Regions from separate parts of the Homo sapiens genome. Here all the other regions are linked to region 2. The links are contacts of gene promoters, found by promoter capture Hi-C in blood cells and fetal thymus (Javierre and others, 2016). All regions are on one chromosome and are shown on one strand. The core of a region is centred on a gene start or on the middle of the fragment in contact, and the rest is flanking DNA. Distances in the headings are between cores, read along the strand shown.

Region 1 (2,700 bases), core at 59-2,558, 200 kb before region 2:
GGAAAGAATGAGGAATGGTTATAAAATAAGGAGGCTGAGATGCATAAAAATAGAAGAGAACCAGTCACATTTGGTTACCACTCAATTACGAGTGAGATTAGCATTACGAGGGACCCTAATTGAAAGCAAGTCCCGAGAAGCCTGTCGTGCCTTTGCTTTGGTGACATATACATGTCCACGGACAGGGCTCCTGGAGACCTCAGCACTTTCTAGGTTGCTCCTTGATTGCTTCAGTGGAAGCTGTCAGCCTCCTAATTTCTAACCCATGTTCTTGCTTCTAAGTTAGTTTGAAACAAAACTAGTCTAAATAAAGTTGCTCAGAAAATACCTCCTGAGTTATTTGACGAGACGTTTACTGCATCTCTTTAATTTTAAATTGCCAGATGGGTGAGAGGACACCTGAGTCACTTTCTTCTCCCTCACACCCAGCCCAGTCCCTTGACCAGCAGGAGTTGGTAACTGTTGAATAATGACACTTCTCTCCCTCCTTCCTACTCTTTTTCCATCCCACTATTGCTCACTTATTTAATGAAACAGCATAAAGTCCAGACCCTATTTTAAAAATTAATCTTCCCCTTTGGGAGGCCGAGGTGGGTGGATTAGGAGGTCAGGAGATCGAAACCATCCTGGCTAACACGGTGAAACCCCGTCTCTACTAAAAATACAAAAAATTAGCCAGGTGAGGTGGCGGTCGCCTGTAGTCCCAGCTACTCGGGAGGCTGAGGCAGGAGAATGGTGTGAACCCAGGAGGTGGAGCTTGCAGTGAGCCGAGATCGCGCCACTGCACTCCAGCCTGGGCGACAGAGCGAGACTCCATCTCAAAAAAAAAAAAAAAATTAATCTTCCTTATTGTTACAAATTATTTTTAAACAAAACCGATGTTAATTAAAGCAAATCAAATAACCCAAGTTAGCCATCTTTGGACCTTTCCCTTTCTTTCCTCTATGTTCCAGCTGCCCACCTCTCTCTCTCTCTCTTTTTTTATTCTTTCTCTGTGGCTCTTTCACCCAGGCTGGAGAGCAGTGGTGCCATCAAAGCTCACTGCAGCCTTGAACTTCTGGCCTCAAGCAAGCCTCCTGTCTCAGCCTCCCCAAAGTGATGGAATTACAAGACAAAGGCACCACACCTGGCCCCACCTCTTGCTCACCCCACGGGACCTCTAGGGGACTGGACAGGCAGTCCCTACAGAATCAAGACCCATTTGTAATCTCTGAGGAACCAGTTTCCGAGAAGCACCCCCAGGCCAGCTAGGAGCCCACCCTGCAGCCCCCAGTCCCTGCTTGGGGCCCTTTGTTTCAATCATTAGTGATTTCTGCCTGGGCCAAAAATAGGATGAAGAAAAAGGAGGCTTGTTCATGCCGTGCCAAAGTGGATATTCAGCAAATTGGAAAGGTTGCTTGTCTCTGCCCACACAGAGAAGCCTGCAACCCTCGTTGCACGGCCACGTGTTCCCTCAGTGAGTGGGGAAAGGCGCTGGCCAGGCGGGCTCGTACTCCCAGCGCAGGAGTTCAGGCTGGGTTTTAGGGTGGGCTTCCAGGACTAGAGCTGCTGACGGCCACACTGAAGGCCCAGGAAGAGGCTGGGCCCGGCTCTGTTGTGGACATTTTCTTCTCCAGTGTCTTTTGTGCTGTTTCCTCAACTCCTCGTGGCAGTGACTCCCGAATTCCCACGTGGAGGGGCTGAGGGAGGAGAATGTGACGGCTGGGGCCTGTGGGTGACAACGGTGTGCATGTTGCACTGCAGTCTCAGTCCTTACTGAGCTCTATGTTAGCATTGACAGAGTGGCAGTTTTCTACTGATAGTTTAGCCACACTTTACAAAGAGGCTCCCTGCTTTTTTCTCTTCCTTAGTTCAGTCTGGGAAGGCGATGGTCCGACAGGGCTGGTGGGGTCTTCGGAGCCCACCAAGTACTGTGCTGTATGGACAGGCCTGCTTGGGAAGGGGGCCGCGGCTGGCAGACTGGGGCGTGCGGTGGGCGTTGGGGGAGAGGCCACCAGTTAGCCCGCTCCCCCGCCCCTTGCTTGTGCGTGGCCTTTTCGAACTCACCTCACGTCTCACACCGAAGTCATCTGCCCTGGTATTGGTGGTAAATATTGGATGTATGGGCTTGCTGTCTGCAAAGCGCCCGTGCTCTGTGCGTCTCTTTGCACATCTGCACGGCCCTGCGGCCGCTCCGAGCTGCCTTTGAGCCCTCCCTGCGAGCGCGCCGCCGAGAGGATGGGCTACCCATGAAGCATCGAACACCGAGGGCTGGCAAGAGGCCCCAGCCCGGCTGCCTCCCGCGAGGGCGCTGTCGGCCCTGTGGGCCTCGCCGTTTTGGTTGCTCCCGGAGCGGGGGTGAAGGGAGTCTCTGTGGGCAGCCGCGCTGTCGGCGCGGTCACATGGGGCCCGGGCGGCGGGGAAGAATGCGTCCCTTGTGCTCCGCCGGCCTGCGCAGGCCCAGGCCCCTGCGCTGCGCTGCCGTTGTATCTGTCGAACCCTTTCGGGGGCGTGTTTCCGAGTCCACCTCGCACACTCCCACATGGAAGGTTTGGGGCGGGGGAGCTGCCTCCTCTCCTGTCTCGCCTCCTCTCCTCCCCTCTACTGTGGTAAATTCAAGGGGCACCCGACCTTATTGACAAGATTGACCTCTTGGGCCAGAGGCTGAGGGCTGTGGTTAGGGAGACTGTTTCCCAGCCGGGAGACCTCGAAGGTCCTTTT
Region 2 (2,700 bases), core at 56-2,555:
CAGGCATGGTGGTGCGGGCCTGTAATCCCAGCGACTCGGGAAGCTGAGGCAGGAGAATCACTTGAACCCGGGAGGCAGAGGTTGCAATGAGCTGAGATCACACCACCACACTCCAGCCTGGGCAACAGAGCCAGACTTAGTCAAAATAAATAAATAAATAAATAAATAAATAAATAAATAAATAAATTTAAAAAGCCTAGAGATTTCTGTGTCTCTCCACTCTCCAAGTTCAAGGCCATTTCAGGGGCCTCCCCAAAGTTTTTAAAACTTGACTTGGGCAAATTCTTTAAGAACCTTGTTCTCCTCAAATAAAATATTTTGGAAAGCGGATTTTTATGAAGTCTTGGCTCAAATTCCATGACCTTTAACAGACATCTTAATTGTTTCGTGGGAGAATATGACCCAACAAGTGGCATATGGTTTAGGTGGGGACGTTTAATTACCGAACAGTTTTGTAGAATAAGCAAGTCACACATCTTTTGTCCGATGCGTGACAGGTTTGAACCTGTAAAGCCAGGTGCCTAAATAGCTTCCAACGTTTCCACCCCACCAGCCCTTGCACCACTCCCTGTACTGGCCCTGAGCTTTCTAGTCTTGACTGAAAAGCGGGGAGGCAATGTGGTCTCTCCTGGTGCACTGTCCCGAGGAAGGCCTGCTCCGCTTCCCCGGAGGAGTCTTCAAAGGATGGAGGTAATTAATAAAAACAACCCCTGTACCTCCTCTAAGTGGTCATTAATTAATAAAGAACCTCCAGGCTCCTATAGGAGAGGTCTGTGCACCCCGCGGGCTATGAGAAGGCTGGATCACCCAGAAAGACTGAGGATGTGTCCTGGCAAAAACACAGCCTGCCCCTCACACTGCTCCCCACGGGTGCACTAGGGAGGAAGAGTTCCCTCGAGGGCCTGAGCAGGCGCCCCACACCTGCACCCGTGCAGAGGGGGCTGGGCCCGCCCTCTGCGCTCCCGAGGGAGAGCCCTACCCCCTGCATCCCCGGTACCCCGTTCCCTCCAAGGGCCGGAAAGAGGGCCCCGCGCACTGTGCACTTCTTAGGGGTCCCCCACCCTGCGCCCCCGCCACGGGAAAAAGGTCCCCGCTCTGCGCATCCGGCCCCGGAGGGACAGCCCCGGTCCTGCACTCCTTGCTCCTCAGGGGGACGGTCCGCGCCCAGCGGCTAGTGCGCCCCGGGTAGGTGGGGGCGGGGGGCTCGTCGAGTGACAGCGCTCGCCTCCCGCAGCCCGCCCGAGCCGCGTCAGGGCAGAGGCGGGGTGGGGCGCGGTTAAAAGGCGCAGCAGGTGGGAGCCGGGGCCTTCACCCGAAACCCGACGAGAGCCCGACAGCCGGCGGCGCCCGAGCCCGACCTGCCTGCCCAGCCGGAGCGAAGGGCGCCGCCCCGCGCAGAGCCCGCGCCAGGGCCGCCGGCCGCAGAGCAGGTAAGCGGGCGCGGACCGGCTGGGTCTTGCGGGGGGCGAGCGGGCGGTGCCACCTCGGCCCCCCAGCGGAGGAATTTCCTCCAAGAAAACAAAACAGGTGAGGTCGGCGGCTGGTCCCCACCTCGCCCCTGTCGCTCCTGTCTGGCACCGGATCAGAGCCGGCAGAGCGCGGCCGGGATGGGTGTCTGGCCGCACGTGGGGCGACCGGGCCCCCGATCTGCCTCTATCCGCACCCTCCTGTCCACGCGCCCCGGCCCCGGCCCGATGGCAGTGGGCGCCGCCCGCGCTGGACCCTCTCTCTGTACGCAGAGGAACGAGGATGGACTGGTTTGACTTTTACCCCAGCGTGGTCCCCTTTGACTTGTACAACAGGTTTTATGAAGGTTTCATATCGTGTGTCTAAGAGGCCAGAGTGAGGGCCGGTGCCCCTTTCCCCCGTTTCATTTGCTGCGTGTTGGATTTTCTAAGCTTTTGTGGGTCACCGGGGTGTCCCCTTGGATTTGGGGAGAAGAAAGCCAGGTCTAGGATGCGGGTTTCAGTTCAGACAAACCCTCAACTTGGGCCGATGCATAAGTCCCCGGAGAACCGCAGGGTATGGGCTGCGTGATGGGCTTCCGAGAAACTTGTGAAATGCTGATGACAATAGCGTGGACGACAGTAATTAAAAGTAATTGGCGACACATCTTAGTTAAAACGTGCAGGCACCAGAAGGCACTTCCTGTCGGTGAAGAAGACCTGTCTCCGGTGTCACGGGCATCCTGTGTTTTGCAAACGGGGCTGACCTCCCTTCCTGGGGAGCAGGAAGGGTCAGGGTGAGTGTGGCCTGCCCGCAGCTCTGCACTCCCGGAGGGGTTAGGGACCTGCAACCAGGCGGGGACACTGGCCCAGCGACCTCAGTGTCCCCTGGGTGGGCGTGCACTCTGTTTAGTGTCTGATTGAACGTAACCGTGCCGGGTTGTTCTTTTCCCTCAAGTAGACTTTATGCCATACAGCTATTTTCTTGCCCCAGTTCTAGCAGAATCTAACCAGTGTTCTAGAAGAAAATGTCCTGCCCCCATGCAGTCTCCTTAGAATTGCAGGGTGCTGCTCAGAACTGCTCCTGTGGAGAGCTTTGTCTGTTGTTTGGATCCAGCAGCGTCTTTGGGGGTGTTGCTTGAAGCTTGCCAAGGAGGAGAGGGGGGTTCTGAAGAGAGAACACCAGGGCTCTAGCCTGTCACATAACTGGGGGTGTGGAGAGCGCCTCATTGCCACTGCAGTGACTAAAGCTGGG
Region 3 (2,700 bases), core at 8-2,507, 160 kb before region 2:
CAGCTGGACTTCCTGGGTAATGTGGGGACTTGGAGAACTTTTCTGTCTTACAAGTGGTTTGTAAAATGCACCGATCAGGCCAGGCATGGTGGCTCATGCCTGTAATCCCAACACTTTGGGAGGCTGAGGCGGGTGGATCACGAGGTCAGGAGATCGAGACCATCCTGGCTAACATGGTGAAACCCTGTCTCACTAAAAATACAAAAAATTAGCCGGGCTTGGTGACGGGCGCCTGTAGTCCCAGCTACTCGGGAGGCTGAGGCAGGAGAATGGCGTGAACCTGGGAGGCGGAGCTTGCAGTGAGCAGAGATGACACCACTGCACTCCAGCCTGGGTGACACAGCAAGGCTGTCTCAAAAAAAAAAAAAAATGCACCCATCAGTGCTCTGTAAAAACGCACCAATGGGTGCTCTGTAGCTAGCTAGAGGTTTGTAAAATGCACCAATCAGTGCTCTGTAAAAACGCACCAATCAGCACTCTGTAGTTAGCTAGAGGTTTGTAAAATGGACCAATCAGCACTCTGTAAAATGGACCAACCAGCAAGACATGGGCAGGGACAAATAAGGGACTAAAAGCTGGCCACTCCAGCCAGCAGCGGCAACTTGCTGGGGTCCCCTTCCATGCTGTGGAAGCTTTGTTCTTTTGCTCACAATAAATCTTGCTGCTGCTCACTTTTTGAGTCCATGCCACCTTTAAGAGCTGTAACACCGCGAAGGTCCACGGCTTCATTCTTGAAGTCAGCGAGACCACAAACCTACTGGAAGGAACCAATTCCGGACACAACAAGGATGCCTGGCACTCTGCTTGAAAGTCCCTCCTGTCCAGGACATCTGTCCAGGACATCAGTCCAGGGTTCAGGGAAAGTAGCAGACTTGGGGAGGGGAGGAAAGGGAAGGGAGAGACAAAGGAGGGAAGAAGCAGAGAGGAAGGGCAGTGGGTCCCAGGTGCCCTTCAAGTTCAGCTGGTGGCCTTTGCTTTTTTTCCTTGGTGAAGAGGTTAGCCTCCTCTGGGGAAGGTGGTTTGTATTTGGCTGCAGTAGGGCTCCTTCTGTTCACTTTCCCTTAGCCTTGGTGTTTCTGCATTTTTTAGATCTCTAGGCCCAAGTGTGTTAGATCACCGCCCCACCCAGCATACTGACTGAGAATTCAATTTCCTCCCTAAAAGTCTGGCTCCTTTTGGCCCCATAGCTCCCTAACCAAACCAGGGGAAGGCTCTGGGACCTGGGCCACACTAAAGCCAGCCTGGCCTTTCCTGGGCCCAGCGTGGGGGCTCCCAGCCAGCCTGGCCCACAGGGCACTGGGGTTCCTGCCCAGTCCTGTGCTCTGGGCTGACATTCTTTTTTCCCCCCATGTGAAGATCTGAAATGATCTTCTTACCTTTTTGGAAAAATTGCCTTCTAATTTTGTGTCCTCAGATAAACCATGCTACTTTTTCTGTTTTGTTTTGGTTTTGTTTTCACCCGAATAATTCCCAGAATAACTTCACTTCTACTTTCTCTCTTTTATTCCAGGAGCTGGCTGTAGAAAAGTATATATTAGATGAAAATTTGTCTTAGGCCTCTTGTGAGGATTAATCTAAGAGGCTCCACAGAGGAGTGGTTGTGGTCAGAAAATGTTTCCTCTTCTGCACTTGGTATTTTTGTGTAGAGGCTAGAAGACTTGTGAATATTGTGAAATACTAGAAATACAGGCCACCAGGTGCAGTCCGGAATCCTTTCTTGGGGGCATGTCTCTTTTGGGTCGGCTTGGGTTAGGAGGCTGCTGGTATGTGATCTCAGAACATTCCCAACAGCCTCTGCTGAGTCCATGTGCCAGACACAACTAAAGGGGAAGAAGGTAATGCCTTCCCCATGTCAGAATGCCCAAATCCTGCTCAAGCTTCCCGGCGCCACTTCCCTGTTGAAGCCTGCCCCGTCCCTGCCAATTTCCTTGAAACTCTGCTTGAACTTACATGCATCACGTCTCCATCCTGCCCAGCAGCCACGGTGCTCTTGTTTCCGACTCCCCTAGCTGACTGCAAATTCTTTAAGGGCATCAGTCATTCTTGATTCATCATCTTGTTTCCTGTAGCATCTAGCACTAAGCAGGTTCTCAGCAAATACTTGTTAAATAAACCTATGATCAGGTATCTTAACTTCTACCAAGGCCAAACAAACAAAAATGAATCTATAAAAATCTTAAAGGCAGAGAGGAGATAAAACAAGATTGTGAGAAAGTACTGGGCCACCATCTGAAAAACTCAGAAAGAGGATACTGTTAAGCAAAGAAGCTCCCCAGAGCAGCGGGGCAAGTCAGGTCAGCTCAAAGCCAACCCGGGGCGGGGGTGCTAATGCCCAAAGAGCGAATGGTGTTGGCGTCAGTAAGAATAATAACTGCAGAACAGAAAATCAAATACTGCATGTTCTCACTTCTAAGTGGGAGCTAAACATTGAGCATACACAGACTAGAGTGGGGAGTGGAGGGGAGGAGAATGGGGAGCATGGGTTGAAAAACTACCTGTTTGGTACTATACTTGCTACCTGGGTGATGGCATCTCTACCCCAAACCTCAGCATCATTCACTGAATTAGTCTGTTTTCATGCTGCTGATAAAGTCGTGCCTGAGACTGGGCAATTTACAAAAGAAAGAGGTTTAATGGACTTACAGTTCCACCTGCCTGGGGAGGCCTCATAACCACGGCAGAAGGAAAGGAGGAGCAGGT
Region 4 (2,700 bases), core at 53-2,552, 220 kb before region 2:
ATTTCATGGTTTCCTGCATATTTAAGGCATTTTTTTAGATTTATGCCTAAGTAATTCTTGTGTATGTGTGCTATTGTGAATGGTATTTAACATTTTTTTTGATTTTCCATTATTAATTGCTACTGTGTAGAAATACAGTTTTTTTATATTGACCTGTATCCTGCAATCTTGCTGAGCTCACTAGTCCTTGGACTTCTTCATAGATTCTTTGGGATTTTCTATGTAGGCATTTATGTCTTATGTGAATAGAGACAGTTTCATTTTCAATCTATATGCTTTTTATATCTTTCTCTTGCCTTATTGCACTGGCTAGGACATCAATATGATGTGGAATAAAATTCTATTCCGGAATAGAATCTGTCCAGCCTGGGCGACAGAGTGAGACAGCTTGCCTTATTCCCAATGTTAAGGAGGAAAGCCTTGAATTTTTCACCATTAAGTGTGATGTTAGCATAGGAATAATAGCTACCTTTCATCATGTTAAAGGGATTCCCATCTATTCCTAGATTGCTGAGAGTTTTAAAAAATATCATGAATGGGTCGGGTGCGGTGGCTCACGCCTGTAATCCCAGCACTTTGGGAGGCCGAGGCGGGTGGATCATGAGGTCAGGAGATGGAGGCCATCCTGGCGAACACGGTGAAACCCCGTCTCTACTAAAAATACGAAAAAAATTAGCCGGGTGTGGTGGCAGGCGCGTGTAGTCCCAGCTACTCAGGAGGCTGAGGCAGAAGAATGGCGTGAACTTCAGAGGCGGAGCTTGCAGTGAGCCGAGATCGCACCACTGCACTCCAGCCTGGGCGACAAGAGCAAGACTCCATCTCAAAAAAAAAAAAAAACAAACACGAATGGGGGTTGAATTTTGTGAACTGATTTTTTTTTTTACATCTATTGGGATGATCACATAATTGTTCTTTTTAAATCTGTTTATATCATGAATGACATTGATTGATTTTAAAAAGTTGAACCAGTCTTGCATTCCTGGGATAAACTCCAGTTGGTCATAACGCACTATCCTTTTTTGTTGAGATTTTTTTTGCATATGTGTTTGGAATAGATTTTTTTTCCCCATGTAATGTCTTTGTCTAATATTTTGATATTACGGTGATTCTGCCTTCATAGAATGAGTTGGGAAATGTTTCTTCTTTATTTTCTGAAAGAGATTGTAAAGATTGGCAGTAGTTCTTTAAATGTTTGGCTGAATGTGGCAAACCCTGGGCCTGGAGTTTTCTGTGTTGATAGATTTTGAACTACAAATTTAATTACTTTCCTATAAATAGACTAATGAGGTTTTCTATTATTTCTTAAGTGAGTTTTGGCAGTTTGTGTCTTTCAAGTAATCAGTCCATTTGTTCTAAGTTGTAGGATTTCTTGGCATAAATAATTATTCATAATATTGCTTTATTATTCTTTTAATGACTATAGGACTGGCAGTGATGTCCCCTCTTTCGTTCTTCATATTGGCAATTTGTGTCTTCTCTCTTTTTATTGGTCAGTCTGCCTTGAAGTTTGTCAGTGTTACTGTTTTTTCCCTAAGAAACCAGATTTGATTTCATTGATTTGTTTCTGTTGTTTTTCTGTTTTCAATTTCATTGATTTCTGCTTTTACTTTTATTGTTTTCTTCTTCCTTTCTTTGTATTTAATTTGCTTTTTTTCAGTTTCTGAAGATAGAGGGTTGGATTAACGATTTGAGATATTCTTCTTTATTAATGTAAATATATAATGCTATACATTTTCCTCTCAGCATTGCTTTAGTTGAATCCAATGATTTAATATATTGTGTTTTCATTTTCAAAATATTCAAATATATTAGAATATTTCAAAATATTCAAATATATTAGAATATTTCAAAATATTCAAAATATTTCAAAATATTCTAATTTCCCATGAGAATTTCACCTTGACTGTAGATTATTTGGAAGTGTCTTGGTTAATTTCCACATATTTGGGGATTTCCTAGATATTCTTTTCTCATAGACTTCCACTTCAATTCAATTATGGCCAGAGAACATACTTTGTTTGATTTCTATTCTTTTAAGTTTTGTTTCATGGCCAGACTATAATCTATCTTGGTAAATATTACATGTGAACTTGGAAAAGTCAGGCATTCTACTCTTGGGTGGAGAGGTCTCTGAATGTCAAGTAGATCAAGTTGGTTGATAATGTTATTCAGCTCTGCTATAATCTTATTGATTTTTAAATCTTGTTCTGAGAAAGAAAGTTATTGAGGTCTCCAGCAGTAATCGTGGATTTGTTTATTTCTCCTTTCAATTCTGTTTTTACATTATGAAATTAGAAAAAACTAATTTTAAAATTCATCTAAATTTAAACATTTTAGAAATTGTATTTAATACCCAAAATATGTTAAATCCAATATAACACTTTTTTAGAGCAGCTTTAGTTCCACAGGAAAATTAAGAAGAAGGGACAGAGATTTCCCATAAAGCCTCTGCCCCTACGCATGTATAGCCTCCCCCATTATCAGCAACTCCCACCAGAATGGCACATTTATTACAGTTGATGAACCTACATTGACACATATTAATCACCCAAAGTCCATAGTTTATATTAGAGTTCACTTTTGGTATTATGCATCCTATAGGTTTTGACAAATGTATATTGACATGTATCCATCAATATAGTATCATACACAGTATTGTCACAGCCCTAAAAATCCTCTGTACTCTGCTTCTTGATCTTC
Region 5 (2,700 bases), core at 24-2,523, 140 kb before region 2:
ATTGCTTGAGCCTAGGAGGTTGAGACTGCAGTGATCCATGATTGTGCCATTGCACTGTAGCCTGGGCAACAGAGCGAGACCCTGTCTGGAAAAAAAAAAAGAGTTTCAGTTGCTCCATATCTTTGTCAGCACTTAATACACTGATCTTCTCAATTTTAGCCATTCTAGTGGATATGAAGATACCCTAACATGGTAATTAACATTTTCTGATGATGATGTTGAGGATCTTTTCATGTGCTTTTTGGCCATATGTATATCTTCTTCTATTTTCTGATTCCAATTTTTTAAATTAAAATTGTTTTAAACTTTTATTTAAAACTTTTTTTAGAGATAGAGTCTCACTATGTTGCCCAAGCTGGTCTCTAACTCCTGTCTTCAAGTGATTGTCTCTCTTCAGCCTCTGAATTTCCATTTTTAATGGCTTGCTTGTTTATGAGATTTGTAAGAGTTCTGAAATATTTTGGATAGAAGTCCTTGGAAGATTATGTGTCCTGCAACTACTTTCTCTCAGTCTGTGATTTATCTCATCATTTTCTGAATGGTTCCTGGAAGAACCCTTCTCCCTCTCTTTCATACAAATTTACACTTGAATTTCATTTTTCTGAACTTTTCAACTGTGGCAACCTCAGCACTTTTAGGAAGTATTGCTCTTTCTAGAAGAGATATGCTGTTCAGGAAACCTTGGCCTTTTCTCCACCACATGTTGTCAACTAGAGTAAGTTGTCCACACTGGGCTGTGGATCTATTTAACTGTGCCCGGGTCAGGGAAGCGACTCCTTTCCTGATTTGGGCCACTGAAGACCTACGTCAGGTTCCCACCTTAAAGCTTGTGTCTCACGTGCAACAGCTTTGCTGGTGCCAAGATCAAAAAGTGCAAAAACTACCTGTGGGGTGGGCCTTCAATGGGGAAGATGAACAATGATATGATCCAGGCGAAACATGAACATGCACCCAATGCAAAGCCACCAACTTTCCTCTTATACCAAACTCCCGAGCCAAGGCTGGAGTTGCCACGTGGCTGTTTTATGACCCAGTGGTAACCTAAGCACACAAACGCCTACTTTGGGCACTGTGTTACCTGGAGTTCCATCAGCATCCACAGGCCTACATTTTGGTATGGAACTTTAAAAAAAAAAAAAAAAAAAAAAACCAAATCCTATGTAGTCTCCAGGATCACTCTCCTATCCTAAACATCAGAACCAAATGGATCACCGAGCCTCCCTTACCACTGTCTGAAAAATGTCACCTCCTGAGCCAGAGTCATTTTTCTGGCACAACCACCCAGAACTGTTAACAATTATTTTCTGGTCACCTTTGGATTTTAATATTCAGAGCCACAAATACGGTCTTTTACCACATTTTGCTACAGTTAATTACACCTGGGGTCTGGAAAAGAGTGGCGCTACTTACTACAAATAAGAATTTGCATGGAAAAGGAGGAATGAGCAAGAAATAGAAACAGATTTAAGGAAATCTAGGTGTTGGCTGTTCTAGCTCAAGCTCATGATAAATCACAATTTTATCCTAGTGAATATCCCAGCGATGGGATGGATGGACAGAGGGTGTGTGAATTTTAGAACCTCACTTGTATTAGAGTCTGCACTAAGAACCCAGACCAAGGTGCAGCATTATCCCAAACTTCAGTCGTCTTATTGGACATGCTCTCAATGTGTTTGCTATAGTTTGGTTGTTTGTCCCCCAAACCTCATGTTGAAGCTTGAGCCCCAGTGTTGGAGGTGGGAACTGGTGGGAGGTGCTTGGGTCCTGGGGGCGCGTCCTTCACGAATGGCTTGGCGCCCTCCTTAAGGTAATGAGTGAGTTCTTGCTCTGTTAGTTCCCATGCGAGTTGGTTGCTAAAAACAGCCTGGCACTGGCTCCCTCTCCCTCCCTCTCTCTCCCTCTCTTTCCCTGTCTCTCCATGTAATCTCCACACACACCTGCGCCTGTTCACCTTCTGCCACGAGTGGAAGCAGCCTGCGGCCCTTGCCAGATGACGCCCAAACTCAAACTTTTGTCGACATCACAATCATGAGCCAAATAAACCTTTTTTATTTATAAATAACCCATCCCTGGTATTCCTTTACAACAACGCTAAACCAATGAAGATGTGTTTTTATTGCGAATTCTTTTAAATAAATATTAAATAAAATAAGATTTATTCATGGCATTGACATGGGCCTTCATATTTCTTTCTTTCTTTCTTTTTTTTTTTTTTTTTTTTTTTTGTTGTTGTTGTTGTTTTTGAGACAGAGTCTCACTCTGTCGCCCAGGCTGGAGTGCAGTGGCATGATCTCAGCTCACTGCAGTCTCCTCTGTTCAAGCGATTCTCATGCCTCAGCCTCCTGAGTAGCTGGGATTACAGGCGTGCACAACCACGCCTGGGTAATTTTTGTATTTTTAGTAGAGATGGTGTTTCGCCACATTGGCCCGGCTGGTCTTGAACTCCTGGCCTCAAATGATCCACCTGCCTCAGCCTCCCAAAGTGCTGGGATTACAGGCGTGAGAAACTGTGCCTGGCCTTTACTTTGAATTCTTACTGTGCACATTTCAATTGTTCTTTCTTTTTCTTTTTCTTTTTCTTTTCTTTTTTTTTTTTTTTGAGATGGAGTTTCACTCTTGTTGCCTGGGCTGGAGTGCAACAGCGTGATCTTGGCTCACCACAACCTCCACTTCCCCGGTTCAAGCGATTCTCCTGCCTCA
Region 6 (2,700 bases), core at 86-2,585, 180 kb before region 2:
ATGGGCCAGCAGCAAACGCTGCAGCTGAGGAATGTGAACACGGGCGGCCAGTCTGAAAAGCGGGAAAGCCGCAATTGCAGGAGTCAGGGTGCGGGCCTCTAGAAGCGGGCGGAGTCTGCGGCAGGCGAGGCCAAGCGTTTGCTTTGTAATTCTCCTGGAAACGTGGACTGTGGCTTGTTCAGCCTCGATATGCTTGTGTCCCGTGTGCGCAAACAAAACGAAACGCAAAGTGGCTCTCTAAAAGGGAGTCGCGGGTCACAGTGAGTGGCCCTGGCCCTCGCCCTCGCCGGTGGTGGCGTGGCTGTGGCCGTCCTGGCTCCTGGGCCAGGCCGCCTGCTCCCGCTTCACCGCCGCGCTCTCTGCAGACGCAGGGCGGTGTCCAAGCCAGCACACGGACCTGAGGCACCTGGCTGTCGCCCGCCGCAGCCGGTTGCGGGGCACGGCGGGGGTTTCGAACCCCTTTTCTCGCTTCTCGGGGGACCCCTGGGGCTGCCCTGGAGGCCCAGGAACCTCGAGGCCAGGCCCAGGCGCCCCAGGCTCGCAGCAGGGCAGAGGGTGCCTCCCTGCAGGCCGCTGTGCCAGGGTCCCCGCAGAGCCCTCCGGGCGGAGCAAGCCCCCAGCTTGGAGACGGCCTTCTGGGCAAAGACAGGCTCTACCCGCAAGCCTGGGAGGGACTGGGGCCGGGTGCGGGCGAGGGGAGGTGCCCCGGGGTAGGGAAACCGGGCTCAGCCGAGGGCAGGCGGGCCCGCCCAGGCCGCGATGGGAAGGGCGCGACGCATCGTCCACGGTCGGGCTCTCGCAGGCGGGCCAGCGCTACTGCCTCAGTCCTACAGAGCTCTGGTGAAAGACAGCGCTCAGATGAGACCTGGGGCGGCGGATTCCGCGGGAGTGCTGCCTGTCTGAGCCGTGAAGGCGTAGGGGAAAAGGTGGCGGCTTCCCTCCGTCCGCCCTCCTGACAGTGGAAATGCCCAAGGGGGAGGCATCCTCTGACGGGAGGGACCTCAGTGGAGCGCAGCTCTTGCAGATCATTATCTGCGCTTGCCTGCCTCCATCCCAAAGCCACGTGAGGCCAAGGAACACAGGTGGCTGATCAGACGTCTAACCTTAATACATAACAACTTGCCTCTTGCTTTGCAATTTACATTGCAGAAGATTCCAGGGCCCCACCTTAGCAAACAAACCCATGGTTCTAAGCTGCATTTCATCAAAGAATATCACTTTTTACGAACTCATTAAAAGCTGAACAAGGCCGGACTTGCAGGCATGTGAAGCCTGGAGAGCACCTTCCCACGTCTTTTGATGGCTCTAATCTTACTCCCCCCTGGGTCCTAGGCAGAAATCTAGAAAATCCTTCATGTCCTTTTACTACGATGCCCCGTCCTCACGCTCCCCTTGTCGTCAGCTTCTCTCACTCCCTGCAGCTGCAGGCGGTCCGTAGGTTGTAGGGTGAGCTAAGGAGGCAGGGAGGTCAAGAGGAATTGATTTCAACCCCTAGTAGATTGCAGGGATGGAAAAGGTGAATTTGTGTTTGACCATTTCACACACACACACACACACACAAAAAATCTCTTTTTAGTGTATACATATGTGTGTGTGTGTGTGTGTGTGTATTTTTTTAATTTTTATTTATTTATTTATTTTGAAACAGAGTCTTGCTCTGATGCCCAGGCTGGAGTGCAGTGGCATGATCTCAGCTCACTGCAACTTCTGCCTCCTGGGTTCAAGTGATTCTCGTGCCTCAGCCTCCTGAGTAGCTGGGACTAGAGGCATGCACCACCATGCCCGGCGAATTTTTTGTATTTTTAGTAGAGACAGGGTTTCACCATGTTGGCCAGGCTGGTCTCGAACTCCTGACCTCAGGTGATCCCCCACCTCAGCCTCCGAAAGTGCTGGGATTACAGGTGTGAGCCACCACGCCAAGCCATTTATAACATATGATAATATTATAGTTTTGTCATGCAAAATTCAATCAAAACACTATCATAGGTTGAACATCCCTAATCTGAAAATCCAAAATCCAAAATGCTCCAAAATCCAAAACTTTTTGAGCACTGAAATGAGATAGTGATACCTTTGCTTTTCTGATGGTTTTGTGTACACAAACTATTTCATGCACAAAATTATTGAAAATATTATATAAAATTACTTTCAGGCTAGGTGTATATGAAACAGAAATAGATTTTGTGTTTAGTCTCAGCTCCCATCCCCAAAATATCTCATTATGCATATGCTAATATTCCAAAATCTAAAAAATATCAGCCATCCAAAACATGTCTGGTCATAAGCATATTCGGTAAGTGGTACTCACCCTGTATAGTGCTTTGGAGAAGATTTTGGGATCCTGCTCTAAAGAAGTTAGGATGGAAGTGGTGGTCATGAAATTGTCTTTTTACAAAACTCATCTATGCCGCCCAATTTCTCCACGTAGGAAGGAATCGTGTCTCCTAGTGACCTGGACCTTGTCATGTCAGAAGGGTTGGGCATGCGGTATGCATTCATTGGACCCCTGGAAACCATGCATCTCAATGCAGAAGGTATGCATCTGGGGCCAGGATGGGAATTCCATTCTATTTAGTGTTGTCATGGGTTTTGTAAACAGTCACATTTTGCCTTTTCTTACAACTGAATAGAGACAGTATATAGGAGATGATGGCCAGCCCTGGTGATTCACAGACAAGGCAGGGATTCGAAACGCTGTGT

The links. The method cuts DNA at HindIII sites, captures the fragments that hold promoters and counts their contacts. A CHiCAGO score of 5 or more calls a contact.
Region 1: a fragment that was not itself captured here is called in contact with the fragment with the promoter of GJB6 in region 2 in 2 of 17 cell types (M0 macrophages and M1 macrophages); the score reaches 5.9 in M0 macrophages.
Region 3: a fragment that was not itself captured here is called in contact with the fragment with the promoter of GJB6 in region 2 in 2 of 17 cell types (M0 macrophages and M1 macrophages); the score reaches 6.3 in M0 macrophages.
Region 4: a fragment that was not itself captured here is called in contact with the fragment with the promoter of GJB6 in region 2 in 1 of 17 cell types (M1 macrophages); the score reaches 5.4 in M1 macrophages.
Region 5: a contact is called between a fragment that was not itself captured here and the fragment with the promoter of GJB6 in region 2, in 2 of 17 cell types (M0 macrophages and M2 macrophages). The highest score is 6.6, in M0 macrophages.
Region 6: a contact is called between a fragment that was not itself captured here and the fragment with the promoter of GJB6 in region 2, in 3 of 17 cell types (M0 macrophages, M1 macrophages and M2 macrophages). The highest score is 8.6, in M0 macrophages.

The regions. Positions count from the first base shown.
Region 1 is chr13:20,435,446-20,438,145 of GRCh38, reverse strand. All of the region lies in intron 4 of CRYL1 (crystallin lambda 1), which reads left to right. Among named protein-coding and RNA genes, the nearest start is that of MIR4499, 3.0 kb to the right of the region's middle. The HindIII fragment of the contact is 4,325 bases long and covers 1-2,700 here.
Region 2 is chr13:20,230,924-20,233,623 of GRCh38, reverse strand. It overlaps GJB6 (gap junction protein beta 6), which reads left to right and starts at 1,305. Exons shown (of 5, transcript NM_001110219.3): 1 at 1,305-1,430; 2 at 2,119-2,242. The HindIII fragment of the contact is 2,257 bases long and covers 1-1,900 here.
Region 3 is chr13:20,386,831-20,389,530 of GRCh38, reverse strand. No RefSeq gene overlaps it. Among named protein-coding and RNA genes, the nearest start is that of MIR4499, 46 kb to the left of the region's middle. The HindIII fragment of the contact is 1,245 bases long and covers 635-1,879 here.
Region 4 is chr13:20,452,557-20,455,256 of GRCh38, reverse strand. The region is part of intron 3 of CRYL1 (crystallin lambda 1); the gene reads left to right. Among named protein-coding and RNA genes, the nearest start is that of MIR4499, 20 kb to the right of the region's middle. The HindIII fragment of the contact is 7,348 bases long and covers 1-2,700 here.
Region 5 is chr13:20,366,770-20,369,469 of GRCh38, reverse strand. No RefSeq gene overlaps it. Among named protein-coding and RNA genes, the nearest start is that of MIR4499, 66 kb to the left of the region's middle. The HindIII fragment of the contact is 890 bases long and covers 829-1,718 here.
Region 6 is chr13:20,413,116-20,415,815 of GRCh38, reverse strand. CRYL1 (crystallin lambda 1) reads left to right here. Exons shown (of 8, transcript NM_015974.3): 6 at 2,429-2,534. Among named protein-coding and RNA genes, the nearest start is that of MIR4499, 19 kb to the left of the region's middle. RefSeq lists enhancers at 1-538, 2,456-2,700. The HindIII fragment of the contact is 5,121 bases long and covers 1-2,700 here.